2 separate regions of the Homo sapiens genome follow, and region 2 is linked to region 1. Evidence: promoter capture Hi-C in human tissues and cell types (Jung and others, 2019). All regions are on one chromosome and are shown on one strand. The core of a region is centred on a gene start or on the middle of the fragment in contact, and the rest is flanking DNA. Distances in the headings are between cores, read along the strand shown.

Region 1 (7,802 bases), core at 1-2,500:
AGTCAACTTTATAGACTTTTATAGAATGAGATGCTGTGTCCAGCACAAGAAGAGAATTCTCCTTGGTGAAGGTAAGAGCCACAGGATGCGAAAGACCATGAGTGACCATGGGCTTCGGTACTGGAAACTCCTCAGGTTTTCCTAAGCAAAGGATAGCTGGACCAGATGTATCTGCAACAATCACATTTCCCTGGTGATCAAAGGTCACAGCGGAGGCAGTTATTTTGGAGGGAAAGTAGAGGCTCAGCCCAAAGGTATCCACTTGGCCGACAAGCTGCATACTTGAGCTAAACACTTTCACCCTGGTGCTGCAAACCCCAGTCCCCAGGGCCAGGGGGTGCTCCAGGACCGCAATGGCCCCGGTGAGCCAAGACACTGCCACCCCTCGGGGATTGCACAGATGAGCTTGCAACCTTTCAGTTCTCCGAAGGACCCCTTCCGCGAAGTCGACGTCCAGGAGGTGCAGGGACCCTGCCTCCGCATCAGTTACCACAATCCCATTCTGAGGGGTGGTCTCCACACCCCAAGGTAAGGAGAATTGGCCTCCAATGACAAGCTTGATCTGGCCAAAAAAATCAAACACTTTGATGGAGCGATCGCCGGCGTCAGTGACAACCACATGGCAGTCGTTGGTGATGGTGACATCCACAGGGTACCTAATGTCTTGGGCAGCGTCCCCCTTCTCTCCAAACTGATGCGCGCATCCTCCCCCTGAGTCAAAAATCTTGACACGCCTCCTGCCGTCGTGCACCACCACGACACGCCCCGTCTTGGGACAAAGCGCCAGTCCGGTGGGGTTGACCAGGGTCCCCCAGCCGCCGAAGGTGTGGTGGCAGGTGAGGGCTCCGGGGGCGCTGGGGGCGGCGCGATGGGCGGCCGGGGACTGGCGAAGCGCTGAGCCCAGGAGCTCTATGAGGTGCAGCACCGGCAGGCAGTCGCTGGTGTCGCAGCCCCGGCAAGCTCGCCTGCAGAATGGGCACTCGAGGGCCAGAGTGCGCGGGTGCGCCAGGGCGGCCACGCAGGCCAGGCAGACCACGTGGCCGCAGGACAGGTTGCGCGGGCGCCGCTGCTGCCGGTGGCCAAACTTCTCAAAGCACACCTTGCACTCGAGCAGGCTGATCTCCGCCTCGCGCATGAGCTCATGCAGCGCTGGCCCGCTCTCCGAGGCTTCGGCCGCCATGGCGCGTCCTGTGCACTCCCGCCGCGCCGCCTGGCCGTGCCCCAGCGACGCTCTCGGTCACGGTCACAGTCATGGTCACGGGGTGGGACGTGCGCCCTGACGTCGAGCGCCGCGGGCCTCTGCACTGCGATCTGCTGCCCCTTGGTGGGCACGCGCGGCACTGTTTCCTGAGGGCCTGATGGTGGACGTTTGCAAGACAAATCCACATGCGCGTTGTGTAGACCTGTAATCGTCACAGCAGTCATGGATGGATTGTGTACACTTTCAGATGAGGAAACACACCTATTGAGGACAACAGGATTGCTCCCTGTCACCCAGCCTGTAAGCGGCAAAACAAGAACTAGAACCCAATCTTCCAGCCCGGGTGCCTAGCAGTGTCTCCAATCCGCAGCGCCGGGTGCTACGGCTGTCCGGGCATAAAACATGGTCCCTTAGCTCATGATGCTTATGATCTGAACCGGAAAACACGAACACACTAGAGAAGATAAACTCCAAGGGAGGTGAGGCAGATGTGTACATTTCTTTTGTGTCTTCTGTCATACTCATAGTTAAGTCAATGTTAGATGAATACATACTTGTAAAATGAATTTGTGCATGAATGAATGTTATAGAACAACAACAACAACAAAAAAAAATCAACGAGGTGAATGAGTGTCAGATGGGGCAACCATGCTGGAAGTGTCTTGCAGAGTAATTAATATGAAATAAGAAAGCTGTTAGTTAATAATAATTACCATAGAACTTCATTTTTTTGTTTTTTAAGACAAAGTCTCACTCTGTCACCCAGGCTGGAGTGCAGGGGCACGATCACAGCTCACTGCAGCCTCCATCTCCCAGGCTCAAGCAATCCTCCCACTTCAGTAGCTGGGACTACAGGCATGCACCATCACACTAGGCTAATTTTTTAATTTTTTTGTAGAGAGGAGGTCTCACTATGTTGCCTAGGCTGGTCTTGAACTTGTGAAAATTGTTCACATTCCTCCCCACCCCTTGGCCTCCCAAAGTGCTGGTGTGAGCCACTGTGCCCAGCCTATGGAATTCACATATGCCTGCCCCATTGTGTTAGGTTGGTGAAAAGGATTCGCAGTGTTTGCCATCACTTTTAATGGCAAAACCGTGATTACTTTTGCAGCAAATTAATAAATAATTTACATAGATTATCTTGTTTAAACCTCATAGCAATCCTACAAAAATATGTTATTTTTATTGTCTTTTTTTCTGATAGAATTCATAGAAATCAAATATCTTGCCCAGGGTCACATGGCTAGGAAGTGGCTGGCCTGGAATTTGAAGCCAGGCAGTTTGACTTCAGAGTTACCTATTTTAGTCATTTTCAAACTTCTTTGCACATGGTAAACACCTGGGTCGCACCCGAAAAGTTTAATTGGCCCATGGTGTGGTCTGGACAGCTGGGATTTATAAAAGCTCCCCAGGTGATTATAATGTACAGCCAAGTTTGAGAAACACTGCATTATAATAATTCCCTCAAATGACACTAAGTTCAGTTTTTCCAATCTCAGTTAAGACCAAAAACAAAGAGAATTTGCCATATGTTGGAAAATCTTCAAACAAGGGATAGCATAATCTGTGTGAAGAATCCATTGTGGTATTATAATCTCTCATTTTTCTTTTTCTTTCTTTTTTTTTTTTTTCTTTTTGAGACAGAGTCTTGCTCTGTCACCAGGCTGGAGTGCAGTGGCGCGATCTCGGCTCACTGCAGCCTCCACCTCCTGGGTTCAGGCGGTTCTCCCACCTCAGCCTCCTGAGTAGCTGGGATTACAGGCACCCGTGACCATGCCTGGCTAAGTTTTGTATTTTTAGTAGAGATGAGGTTTCACCATGTTGGCCAGGCTGGTCTCAAACTTCTGACCTTTCGCGTCAGCCTCCCAAAGTGCTAGGATTACAGGCATGAGCCACCGTGCCTGGCCCTAAACTCTTATTTTTAAGGGGTTCTCCCTCAAATGTCTTATGTGAACATTGTGCTTAACAAAACCTTGTATTAGAGAATTTCTTTTCCTTTAGAGATCATAATCATGAACATTCACCTTCTGATTTGCTAGATTTCTGAGAAAACACAATATTTTATCCCCTGTTGAGGCCCCTGGAAAGAGCTTTAATGTAAGACAAGAAAGAACATTTTCTAATCAAATGTCATTTGACTCAAAGATTGCGTACTGGGACACAATAACCAACTTAATAATTTCTGACTACATTTCCATCCCAAATAAACAACCAACTAAAATCACATTATTTATGCAATCACACCATTGCATAATTGATTAATAACAAATATGTCTTGAATCTCACTCTGACATTTGGCATTTCCTATGACTATCATTTCCTCCTCCATGGCTGGGCCTCCATGGATTTACCCTGTGCTTCCCTCCGATATTCCTTCTATAGAGGGTCCTGGACTAGCATGCCCATCTTTTCCTGCTTCCACCTAGAACAAGCCCTGAGAGTTGTGGGGGCAAAGGGCTTGAAGAGCAGAACGTCTAGTTTCCAAAGTGGTCAATGGCTGCCCTATGAAAAAGTACCATACTATAGTGGAAGGAGAGTGGGGACCCAGCTCAGGATGGTTCCAGCAGAGAAGAGAGCACAGGGGGAGCATGAGTTAGGGGGAGTCAGTGCTTAGACAGGTGGGCTCCTGGTTGTGCAGGTGGGGCAAATGTGCCAGACACATGCAGTTTAGAAGGAATCCCAGAACAAGTTTAATGATCCAATTACAACTCAGACTACCTGACAATGATGTAAGGGAAAGGAAGATGAACAAGCCACACAGAATGGGCTTTGCTTCCAGCCTTGCCCTCCTCCCAGGGGCGTCTCTGACCACCACTCTAATTTTTAAGCTCCATGTTCTTGGCATCTCAGGGGTGAGGGATGTGGTGGCAAGAGGAAGAATGGCTGTTTTTGAATTTTTTGAGTAAGTCCATACAAAAATGAGTGGAGATGTATGTTTGGAAATGGGGATCTAGAGATTTGAGTGCATCTCAAGTTCAATGCAATTGAGTGTTCCTCAGGGTGCCACCTTCAGTCTTTTTCTCTTAGCTTCCTACCTGTTTCCCTGAGCAATGCCATCTTCACTTCCTCGTGGTTTAAATGACCAGTTATAAGCTGACAGCTCCCTGCCTGTACCCCTAAGACAGCCATACCATATGAAGTTCAATGTTCAGTCCCTACCCCTACAACCTGTGATGCCTGAGAAAAGGATTATCTTCAATAATCAATAAACCTTTATCTGCTAGCACACCCAATAGTACTTAAATTGCTGAATGAATGCTGACTCTAATAGCAGGAGAAAGACTAAATAATAATTGTACTGCCACATTACAACATTATACAGCTATTTAAAAATCTTGCTTTTGAAAAATATTTAGTGACACTGTTACCAGTAGAAGGTTTGACTACAAGTTGTCCAGGTTCTTGGCTTTTTGAACAAAGAATTGGACAAAATGCACAGCAAAGCAGAGAAAGAATGAAGTAACAAAAGCAGAGATTTATTGAAAATGAAAGTGCTCCACAGGGTGGGACCTGGCTGAGCAGTGGCTCAAGGGCCCTGGTTACAGAATCTTCTGGGGTCCAAATACTGCCTAGAGGTTTCCCACTGGCCACTTGGTATTCATCCCATGCAAATAAAGTAGTGGCCCGCAATCAGTCTGATTGGTTGCTTTTGCTTGCTGCAACCAATGAGAGGCCGAAGTGAAGTTACAAAAGTTACACTCCTATGCAAACGTTTGATTGGTTGCAGATGTTTCTGCCACGCAGAAAAGGCTAGGGGCGGTGGGGTGGTGGAGGTTACAAAGGGAGTAGCCTCTGGTCCTTTTGTTACTTAGGCATGGAAAGTTGAGGTTTTCCTTTCAATTTAGTTCTAGGAAGTCAGCATGAATCAGCCTTAGGTTCCCTGCCTCAAGACCCTATTCTCCTGCCTCAACTCCAGGAAGGGTGAATGAAATAGAAAGAAAGATAGTGGAGATACAATACTGTATCGTAATGTGATCACAACAACCTTGTGAAAACATTCACATGTATGAGCAGACAAAAAAGATGAGAAGAAAATACATCACCATCATAGCAGTAATTATCTCCAGTGATAGGACTTGATTGCTTTTCTTTTTCTTTTTAGACTTCCCAAATTTTCAATGCATAAAGGATTATTTGTCATATTTAAATATAAATAACTTAATATTTTATGATATATTTCATTTCTAAATATCTGCCTCGATTATCCTCCTGTTGTCGAAAGTTAACACCAATAGTGAAATAAATTTCTATTAATACCCACTGTTCAGGAATCACAGATTTTCAAGCATATTTTCAGCTCACAAATTACAGCTACACATAAGTAATAAATCTGGGACATGACTATTTTCTGCAAATCGGAATGACTATGCTTAAGGCACATAAATAGAATTCTGTCCAATTCCCACCAGCCACTGGTGAATTTGTCATATAATGTTTTATAAGGCAAAAAGCACATCACATAAGAAGTGATTGGAAAGTCAGAGCTGTAGGGATTAAAGATGATAATTTTTAATTTTAATTTTGTTGTTGTTGTTTTTGTTTTGAGACAGTTTTGCTCGTTGCCCAGGCTGGAGTGCAATGGCTTGATCTCGGCTCACCACAACCTCCACCTCCTGGGTTCAAGCAATTCTCCTGACTCAGCCTCCCGAGTAGCTGGGATTACAGACATGTGCCAACCATGCCCGGCTAATTTTTTGTATTTTTAGTAAAGACAGGGTTTCACCGTGTTGGCCAGGCTGGTCTCGAATGCCCGACCTCAGGTGATCCGCCCACCTCGGCCTCCCAGAGTGCTGGGGTTACAGGCATGAGCCACTGTGCCCGGCCAATAACTGATTTTTTAAAAAGCACTCAGTAGAAATCTTTCTCTGAAACACCTTTCAGAAAGAGTAGGTGTAGGCTGAGCAGCTCTTTGGGAGGCTGAGGTGGGGGGATCACTTGAGGCCAGGAGTTTGAGATCGTGCTGGGCAACATAGTGAGACCTTGTCTCTACTAAAAATAAAAAAAAAAATTAGCTGGGTGTGGTGGCACACACCTGCAGTCCTGTCTACTCAGGAGGCTGAGGCAGAAGGATTGCTTAAGCCTAGGAAATTGAGGCCGCAGTGAGCTATAATCACACCACCGTACTCCAGCCTGGGCGACAGAGTGAGACCCTGTCTCAAAATAAAAAAAAAAAATAAGGAGTAGGTGCGACATAAACATATACATGTATACACAAACACACATTGAAATTGCTCCCTTGTATTAAAATAAAACAATGACAGGTATGTACTACAGTTGCGACTTGGTAAATTGCTTGAACTAATATCTCCATGGCTTAGATTTGTATTTGTCACTTCATGCTGCCAATGAATCCCGTCAGCTGGGAGCTCTCTCATAGGTACATCTTTTGGGCCACCTTCTGTGGTCCCTAAACCATTCTTTATGGAGCCAAATCTCTGACTTCCCAGTGATAGCTGTTTAAGCTTTGGTTATATTTCTTTGTATTTTTCTTTCCACATTCACCCAAATAGATTAATTATTACGTACCTTTCTTACTTTGTCCTGTCTGCTAGTGATAACACTGTCTATACTGGAGCATTCATGCCTGCTTCATAGGCAGGGCAAGGCATTTATAAACCACTGTGTGCAGGGCACAGAGGCTCAGATAATCTGTTACTTAAATAATAAAATGAAACAAGAAGCATTTTTGGAAAATCCTGAAAACAATTTAATTGCTCTAAAATAATTTACATGTGGTATATCTTCCATCTTGAGATTTTAGGAAGTCAGTATTCCCCAGTGAAGACACATATTACATAAATGATCAACTACCTAAGGATATCTCATTTGTATTTAAGATTCTTTGGGCACAACTGCAAGCGGAAAGGACTCTATCCCATGGACACAGGGTGTTTCTCCCCACCCTGGGCAGCTGGGCTTCAGGGAGGATGAAAATGGACCCAGGACGCAGGTGGCCTCTCTTTGGTTCTCATCTCTTTCTGCAGATCAGCGTTCTGTTTCTCAGATCCATGTGCTGGAATGTGGCTGCCCCACAGCTCCCAGGCGTACACAGATTCCCCTTTCAGCAGTCAACTTGCCTTTCTTTTTTTTCTTTTCTTTTTCTTTCTTTTGAGACAGAGTCTTGCTCTGTTGCCCAGGCTTGCGTGCAGTGGCATGATCTCAGCTCACTGCAACCTCCGCCTCCTAGGTTCAAGTGATTCTCCTGCCTCAGCCTCCCAAGTAGCTGGGATTACAGGCACGTGCCACCACGCCTGGCTAATTTTTTTGTATTTTTAGTAGAGACGGGGTTGCTTTTCTATTCCCAAGTCCAAAAGCCTATGAAGAGGGCCAGCGCAATGGCTCATACCTGTAATCCTAGCACTTTGGGTGGCCAAGACAGGAGGACTGCTTGAGGCCTCACGTCAAGTTCAACATCAGCGTGGGCAACAAAGTGAGACCCTGTCTCTACATAAAAGTAAAATCAAAAGTCTCTGGAGAGAATTGTGTTGGTCCAGCTCGGGTTAGTTGTCCATTCAACCGGTGATACAGGCAGAGTTGGGGAGTCATGGCTTCTGAAGCCCACAGTATCGACTGGGAGCAGGTCTCAGAGAAGCAAGAATCA
Region 2 (7,802 bases), core at 1,898-4,397, 100 kb before region 1:
TTGCAATGACCTTAAACCCCAAGAAAAACAAGGCCTAAAATTATAGTAAATGCTTCGAGGGGCAAATTGTCACCTGGTTTAGATGGAAACAGAGATCTGAGCAGCCTGCTGTTTTTCAACATTATCTGAGCTGTCTCCTGGTTAGAGAAAAAGCTATTTCCAACTGGACGCCCTCTGGTCATCATTTACACTTCTTTGGTTTGACAAACAAAAGAATGCTTACTTCAGTCTTATTGGCCGCTAATCAGCCATTTGCTAAGAAAACATCAGGTTTTTAAACACCCATTTATTTATTCGTTTATTTCAGACACACAACCTTGCTGTATTGCTCAAACTAGATTTGCACTCCTGGAATCCAGTAGATCCTTCTACATCCAGAATTGGTGGGTTCTTGGTCTGACTTAAAGAATGAAGCCACAGACCCTCACAGTGAGTGTTACGGTTCACTAAAAGCAGTATGTCTGGGCGTTCCTTTATTTTTTTCTGATGTTCATCACGTGTTCAGAATTGTTTTCTATTAGTGGGTTCCCAGTTTCACCAGCTCAGGAGTGAAAATGCAGACCTTCACGGCGAGTATTACAACCCATACACACAAGGCTGACCCAAACAATGAACAGCAGCAAGACTTACTATAAAGAACCAAAAAAAAAAAAAAAATTTAAAAAACACCCACAAGGGAGAACAAACCTCGACAAGTTACCACAGCTAGTTTGGGCAGCCTGCTTTTATTCTCTTATCTGGCCCCACCCACATTCTGCTGATTGGTCCACTTTATAGAGAGCTGATTGGTCTGTTTTACAGAGCGCTGATTAGCCCGTTTTGACAGGGTGCTGATTAGTGTGTTTACAATCTCTGAGCTAGACACAAAAATTCTCCAAGTCCCCACAGAGCACTGATTGGTGCATTTACAAACCTTGAGCTAGACACAGGGTGCCGATTGGTGTGTTTACAAACCTTGAGCTAGATACAGAGTGCTGATTGGTGTGTTTACAAACATTGAGCTAGATACAGAATGCTAATTAGTGTATTTACAATCCCTTAGCTAGACAAAGATTCTCCAACTCCCCACCAGCCTCAGGACCCCAGCTGGCTTCAACTACTGGATCCCGCACCGGGGCCGCAGGTGCAGCTGCCCGGCAGTCCCGCGCAGTGTGCCCACACTCCTCAGCCCTTGGGCGGTCGATAGGACCGGGCGCTATGGAGCAGAGGGCGGCGATTGTCGGGGAGGATCGAAGGCGCAGGAGCCCACGGCGGCGGGGGGGAGGCTCGGACATGGCAGGCTGCAGGTCCCGAGCCCTGCCCCGCAGGGAGGCGGTTGAGGCCCGGCCAAAATTCGAGGCAGCGCCGGCGGGCCGGCACTGCTGAGCGGTGACAGCGTGCTGGCAGCTTTCTCAGCCCTTGCTCTCCGTGCCTCCTCTGCCTCAGCGCCATTCTGGTAGCGCTGGAGAAGCCCTTCTCTGGGCTGGCCGAGGCGGGAGCCGGCTCCCTTGGCTTCAAAGGAGGTGTAGAGGGGGACGCATGGGCGGGAACCAGGGCTGCGCGCGGCGCTTGCGGGCCAACTAGAGTTCCGCGTGGGTTTGGCAGGCCCCGCAGTTGGAGCGGCCTGGCCGGCTCTGCCGGCCCCGGGCAGAGGGGCTTAGCACCCGGACCAACAGCTGCGGAGTGTGCGCCGGGTCCCCCAGCAGTGCTGGCCCACTAGTGCTGCGCTCGATTTTTTGCCAAGCGTTAGCTGCCTCGCCGCAGGACAGTGCTCGGGACCTGCAGCCCGCCATATAGTCCACCCCTGGCGGTGGGCTCCTGCGCGGCCTAAGCTTCTCCGACGGGCGCCGCCCCTATGCTTCACGGCGCCCAGTCCCATCAAACGCCCAAACACTGAGAAGTGTAGGCGTCCGGCGCGGGGTTGACAGGCAGCTCCACCTGCAGCCCTGATAAGAGATCCACTAGGTGAGACTAGCTGGGCTCACTGAGTCTAGTGGGGGCTTAGAAAAAACCTTTATGTCTAGCTAAGGGATTGTAAATACACCAATCAGCATTCTGTGTCTAGCGCAAGGTTTGTAAACACACCAATCAGCACCCTGTGTCTAGCTCAGGGTTTGTAAATACACCAATGGACACTCTGTATCTAGCTAATCTAGTGGGGATGTGGAAAACTTTTGTGTCTAGCTCAGGAATTGTAAACACACCAATCAGCACCCTGTCAAAACGGACCAATCAGCTCTCTGTAAAACAGACCAATTGGCGCTCTGTAAAATGGACCAATCAGCAGGATGTGGGTGGGGCCAGGTAAGAGAATAAAAGCAGGCTGCTAGAACTAGTAGTAGTAAATAATGAAAACGTTTAGTATCTTGGTATGTGTAGGATTAAGTGCTTTGGATGTTTGAGTTTTGTTTGCTGTGGTTTTATGGATTGTAATGCCACGAAGATCTGTAGCTTTAATGTTTTTAGTTAGTGATAAAAGTGTGAATCCGCCAAGAGAAATAAGTAAGTGCTGATGTGTTGGTTTGAGAGCTGTAATATTCACTGCTAAGGTCTGTAATTTCTCTCCTGAGCCAGCAAGATAGTAAACCCGCCAGAAAGAAAAAACTTCAGAGACACTACTTTCTACAACTGTAATGCTCACTGTGAGGGTCTGCAGTTTCATTTTTGTAAGTCAGACCAAAAACCTGATTGTGGCCGTTGGGGAACTCTGCGTCCTTTGTAGCTACTGGTGTGAGTGTAAATTTTCTGTTGAGGGCCAGCAGTGTTTGTTAACTCTCCGGGAGTGCGGGGTGGCAGAGCCCAGGCCTGCACACCCGGAACTCGAGCTGGTTTGCAAGGGCTGCTGCAGGCCTGATTCTTGCCTGCGCCTCTCCATACGTGCCTGCAAGCTGAGGGAGTCGGCTTGGGCCTCAGTTATTCCAGAAGAGCTCCCACCGTGCAGCAGCGAGCTGAAAAGCGACTCAAGGAGGGCCAGGGTGGGTGCCGAGGCCTAGAAGGCCCCGTGAGTGAGTGAGAGGGCTGAGGGTTGTTAGCGCACTGTCATTTCTCAGTTTCCTGAATGGCTGAGACTGCAAGTGTGTGCTACCACACGTTTGGCAACATCAGTTTTTCTTTTTGAGACAGGCCCTTATTCTTGCCTAGGCTGGAGTAGAATAGCATAATTATGACTCACTGCAATCTTCGCCTACTGAACTCATAAGCCTAGCATCCCAGCCTCCTGAGTAACTGGGACTACAGGTGTGCACCACCCTGGCTGGCTAACTTTTTTTGTATTTTTTGTAGAGATGAGGTTTTGCCGTGTTGCCCAGGCTGGTGTCAAACACCTGGTCTCAAGTAATCCACCTGTCTCCATCTCCCAACGTGCTGGGATTACAGGCGTAAGGTACCACACCCAGCCCCAGTGTTTAATTGTAGAACTGAGATAAAATCTTACCTACGTTGCTATCAAAGGAATTACTGTGAAACATTTGAAGCTTAAGCCTCAGGTCCTTCATTTAGATGTGCCTTTTTTATAGCTTTTTGCAAATTCTGTACGCTAAGTAATACTTGGCACAGTAAACTTAAGTTTCTTAATGAGCACCCCGAGTGTATAAACTCCAGACCTCATGCAATTTGGATCCCGTACTAATTGGGCGTGGTAAGTAACCAGACTGGAAGCTCCGTGAGGGCAAGAGTCCCCCAAGCCCAGCATTCAGAACCTGGCTGACAAGTGATAGGAGTTTAATAAACGTTTGTTGAGGACTGAGTGCTTGAAGATCATGTACATTTAATAAGGATCTGGAAAATAGTCATTATTAAGTGGCATTTTTTTGTATAAGGTGTCAGGCAGAAAGGAAAAACGCACTCAAAGATGTTTACATGCAGAAATATGCAAATGTGATTGGTTTCGAATCCACCCACAATACCTACGAAGAGTTTTCAACATCATAGGAACAAATTGCAGGTTTAGAAGTGTAAACTTTTCCCTTTGCTCTAAAATGAATTTGCTTTTTCCCACTTACTGTCATCTAGTAGAGACCATCTTTGGAAGACAGCTGTGGCAGTTTGCCCTTGTCTGCAAGAGCTTGCCAAAGGGGACACTGATGCAACATTAATCATATTCCAAGCTCCATACAGTGCAGGTGAAGTCATTAGAACAGCAAACACCCTGTCTGTTCCTTAAGAGACAGATGATTTTCATTCGGTGATAACTGGTATTTTTTGTGATAATGATGGGGAAGGTGAGGGCTTCACGAAAGCCGGTCAGCAATCAGTTGGGAACACAGGAACAGTGGTGTGTGTGTGCGCATGCACTCACATGGTCTTTGTTATAGCTGCCTCTGTAAATGGAGGGAAAAAAAACAAAAAAACAAAACAAAACAAAAAAACCAGCTGAATCCCCTGGGAATAGCAATTAACTGCAGCTTCAGTGCCTGAGCTAGTAATACAGTGAGCACGAAGACATTGCTGGGCTAGAAAGGTTTTGCTGTTCTTTCCTCCTCCGCTCCTCCTACCTTCTCTGGAATCCTTCCTCGAAGGCGCTCACCCTGCTCATTATCATAAAGAATGGCTGGAATGTGAGGATGACTGGGACTCACCCTGCCGTTCCATTGTCTGAATCTTAAACACTGCTCTAGTCTAGTCAAAGGAAATGAAAACAGAGGGACAACCCAGCTTATAAACACTGGGTACAAGATGTCAGTGCCATCGCTGCTCCCTGGAACACTGCTGTTTGTCACACAGAGCCCCATCTGTTTAAAGCAGAGGAATGCTCTTTGCTTGAAGAGGAAAGGATGAATTGATAGCAATATTCCCTAGCTTTTTCATTAGAGGGTTTGAAAAATAGCCTTTCCGAAGAATGACACCTTTATGTATAATCCAATTGAGCTATGAATTTAAGAACATTACTGGGCTGAGGTTTTCATCTGCTTTGATCAAGCCTAAGGTATGGCAGGCCTCCAAACCTTTCCTTTGAGAATGCTGCTGTTAATGAATTTCGTAAATCTGACAAGTTTTTGCTGCCCCCTCAAAAAAGTATTTGGCTTAATTTTATGGTGAGCAGAATTCAAAAGGCAAAAGGAAGGAAAATAACAGCTTTATTTTTTGAGACAGGGTCTCGTGCTGTTAGCCAGTCTGAAGTGCAGTGGCGCAGTCTCAGTTCACTGAAGCCTCCACCTTCTGGGCTCAAGCGATCCTCTTCCCTCAGAATAGCTGGGACTACAGGTGCACCCCATCAAGCCTGGCTAATTTTTGTGTTTTCAGTAGAGATGGTTTCACCACGTAGCCAGGCTGGTTTTGAACTCCTGACTTCAAGTGATCCGCCCTCCTCGGCCTCCTAAGGATTGAGGAAAAATAATTCAAGTATGGTTTGCAAATTCCTTTATACAATATGCTGATTTGCTGGCACCAGCTGAATAGCTGCAACATTTTGGGTACCACTCAGGAGTGGTCATAGAAGAGAGTGGGGAAGGGAACAAACAAAATAACCCAGAGAAAATAAAACTATACTTGAATTATTTTTCCCCAGTCCATTACCTATTAGGAACGCTGGAGGCCATAGGTATCGGTTGAGGAAAGGCAGCCATGCAGCAGGAGTAGGTGGTGTGGAAGTCATGCAAATTATAGCTGCTTTTATGACCGCTCAAGGCCAGTCTTGACTACATCATTTTCACTTGATGGCAGGTAGAGCGGTGAAGGGCTGATTGGAAGTGGTGGGGTGTGTGTGTGTGCTGCTTTTCAACCTGTGGCCCTCAGAACAGGGTGATCATGTGCCAAGGGTTTTCACACCAGAATGACACACAAATGTCAGCTTGTAGAAATTTTATTTTCTGGGATTATTTTCTATAGAGAAGATCTCTCCAATTTTCTTCCTAAAGAATAGGAGCCTGACTGCCAACTTTCTGGCAGAAAGACAAGGAAAGAGATTTATGCAGGGTCTCACGATGCTGCGTGTAGATATTCACTTAACAGTATCTCCCTTGGAATGTACCAATGTTCTTACCTAGAGAAGTTCTGGTCAGATTTTTTTTTTTTTTTTGAGACAGTCTCGCTCTGTTGCCTAGGCTAGAGTGCAGTGGCGTGATCTCAGCTTACTGCAACCTCTACCTCCCGGGTTCAAGCAATTCTGTCTCAGCCTCCCAAGTAGCTGGGACTACAGGCACATGCCACCACGCCCAGCTAATTTTTTGTATTTTTAGTAGAGACGGGGTTTCACCATATTAACCAGGATGGTCTCGATCTCCTGACCTCGTGATCTGCCTGCCTCAGCCTCCCAAAGTTCTGGGATTACAGGTGTGAGCCACTGCCCCTGGCCAGATTTCTTTAGAGAATAAATTTCTGGGGACAGTGAGGAGAAGACGACTTGCCTACCTTCCAGGGGTGAGCAAGGGGACCCGGGGAGGGTCTCATTGCCTTTTAAATAGATTTTCAATGATTATGCCAATTTTGAGCCCTTTTACAGCCCTGCCTTCAGCAATACCTTGCTTCTTTACACCCTGAGATTGTCTGTGGTTCTCAGCACTCATTTTTGGCAGGCATACAGATATGTTGACACCTCTCATCCACTGTTGTCTCTTCTGAGGATTTGCCGCCTCTTTTCGGTTACTTCCATCAGTGGTTGTGGAAGTCAGAATTTTAAAAAGACACTCAAGATTCCCACCCACTGGTGAACATGCTTTATATAATTCCCTCCACTGGAGTGTGGGTAGGATTCGTGACTATGATGGGATATCACTGCCGTAATTGGGCTACAGAATACTTGACTTTCAGTTAATCGAAAGGGAGATTGTTCTGGGTGAGCCTGCCCTAATTAGCTGGACCTTTTACAAGATGGTGAAGCATCACAGAGACCTTCCAACGGGCCTGGCCTGGAAGAAAGAAACAGCCGTGTTGTGAACTGCTATGGAAGGGGCTCATGGTTAACATGAGAGTGGTTCTTGGAACTGAGAGTGGTCCCTGGCTAGTAGCCAGTAAGAAAGTGGGGACTTCATCTCTATAACTCCAGGGAACTGAATTCTGCTCACAACCTGAATGACCATGGCAAGAGGACCATGAGCTTCAGATGAAATCACAGCCCCAGCCACACCATATTTCAGCCTAGTGACACCCTGAGTAGAGGACTCAACCTGTACCTACACTCCTGACACAAACTGAGATCAGTTAGTCTTCATTTAAGTCATTAAATCACTGATAATTTGTTAGGCAGCAATAGACAGCAGATACAGTGAGGTTTCAAAGGTAGAGGAAATAGATTATATGGTACATATGTTTTTTTTTTTTTTTTTTTTTTGAGACTGAGTCACACTGTTGCCCTGGCTGGTGTGCAATGATGCGATCTCAGCTTAGTGCAACCTCTGCCTCCTGGGTTCAAGCTATTCTTCTGCCTCTGTAGCTGGGATTACAGGTGCCTGCCACCACGCCCGGCTAATTTTTTGTATCATTAGTGGAGATGGGGTTTCAGTATGTTGGCCACGCTGGTCTCGAACTCCTGACCTTGTGATCCGCCCACCTCAGCCTCCCAAAGTGTTGGGGTTACAGGCGTGAGCCACTGCACCTGGCAGATACATATGTTTTTATTCGCTAGCATCCTTTCTTGAAAGCCATTCTACTCTGTAGTGCCAGTGGGGACATCAATAGTGGTGTCCCCTCCTGTCTGACTATAAATGTGGATGGATGCCCACCAGCCACACTGATTGTCTCAGGAATGGACATGCATCTTAGTCCATTTGTGTTTCTATAAAGGAATACATGAGGCCTGGTAATCTATAAGAAAAGTTTGTTTGGCTCATGGTTCCATAGGCTGTATAAGCATGACACTTGCATCTCCTTGGGTTCTGGTGAGGCCC

Evidence for each region. The method cuts DNA at HindIII sites, captures the fragments that hold promoters and counts their contacts. A contact is called where the count stands out against the background at its distance.
Region 2: a contact is called between a fragment that was not itself captured here and the fragment with the promoter of NHLRC1 in region 1, in 3 of the 25 tissues and cell types used here (IMR-90 fibroblasts, aorta and small bowel).

Annotation. Positions count from the first base shown.
Region 1 is chr6:18,121,427-18,129,228 of GRCh38, forward strand. It overlaps NHLRC1 (NHL repeat containing E3 ubiquitin protein ligase 1), which reads right to left and starts at 1,251. Exons shown (of 1, transcript NM_198586.3): 1 at 1-1,251. The coding sequence starts at 1,180. TPMT (thiopurine S-methyltransferase) reads right to left here. Exons shown (of 9, transcript NM_000367.5): 9 at 6,885-7,802. The HindIII fragment of the contact is 9,942 bases long and covers 210-7,802 here.
Region 2 is chr6:18,018,518-18,026,319 of GRCh38, forward strand. No RefSeq gene overlaps it. Among named protein-coding and RNA genes, the nearest start is that of KIF13A, 35 kb to the left of the region's middle. RefSeq lists an enhancer at 3,743-4,696. The HindIII fragment of the contact is 4,966 bases long and covers 665-5,630 here.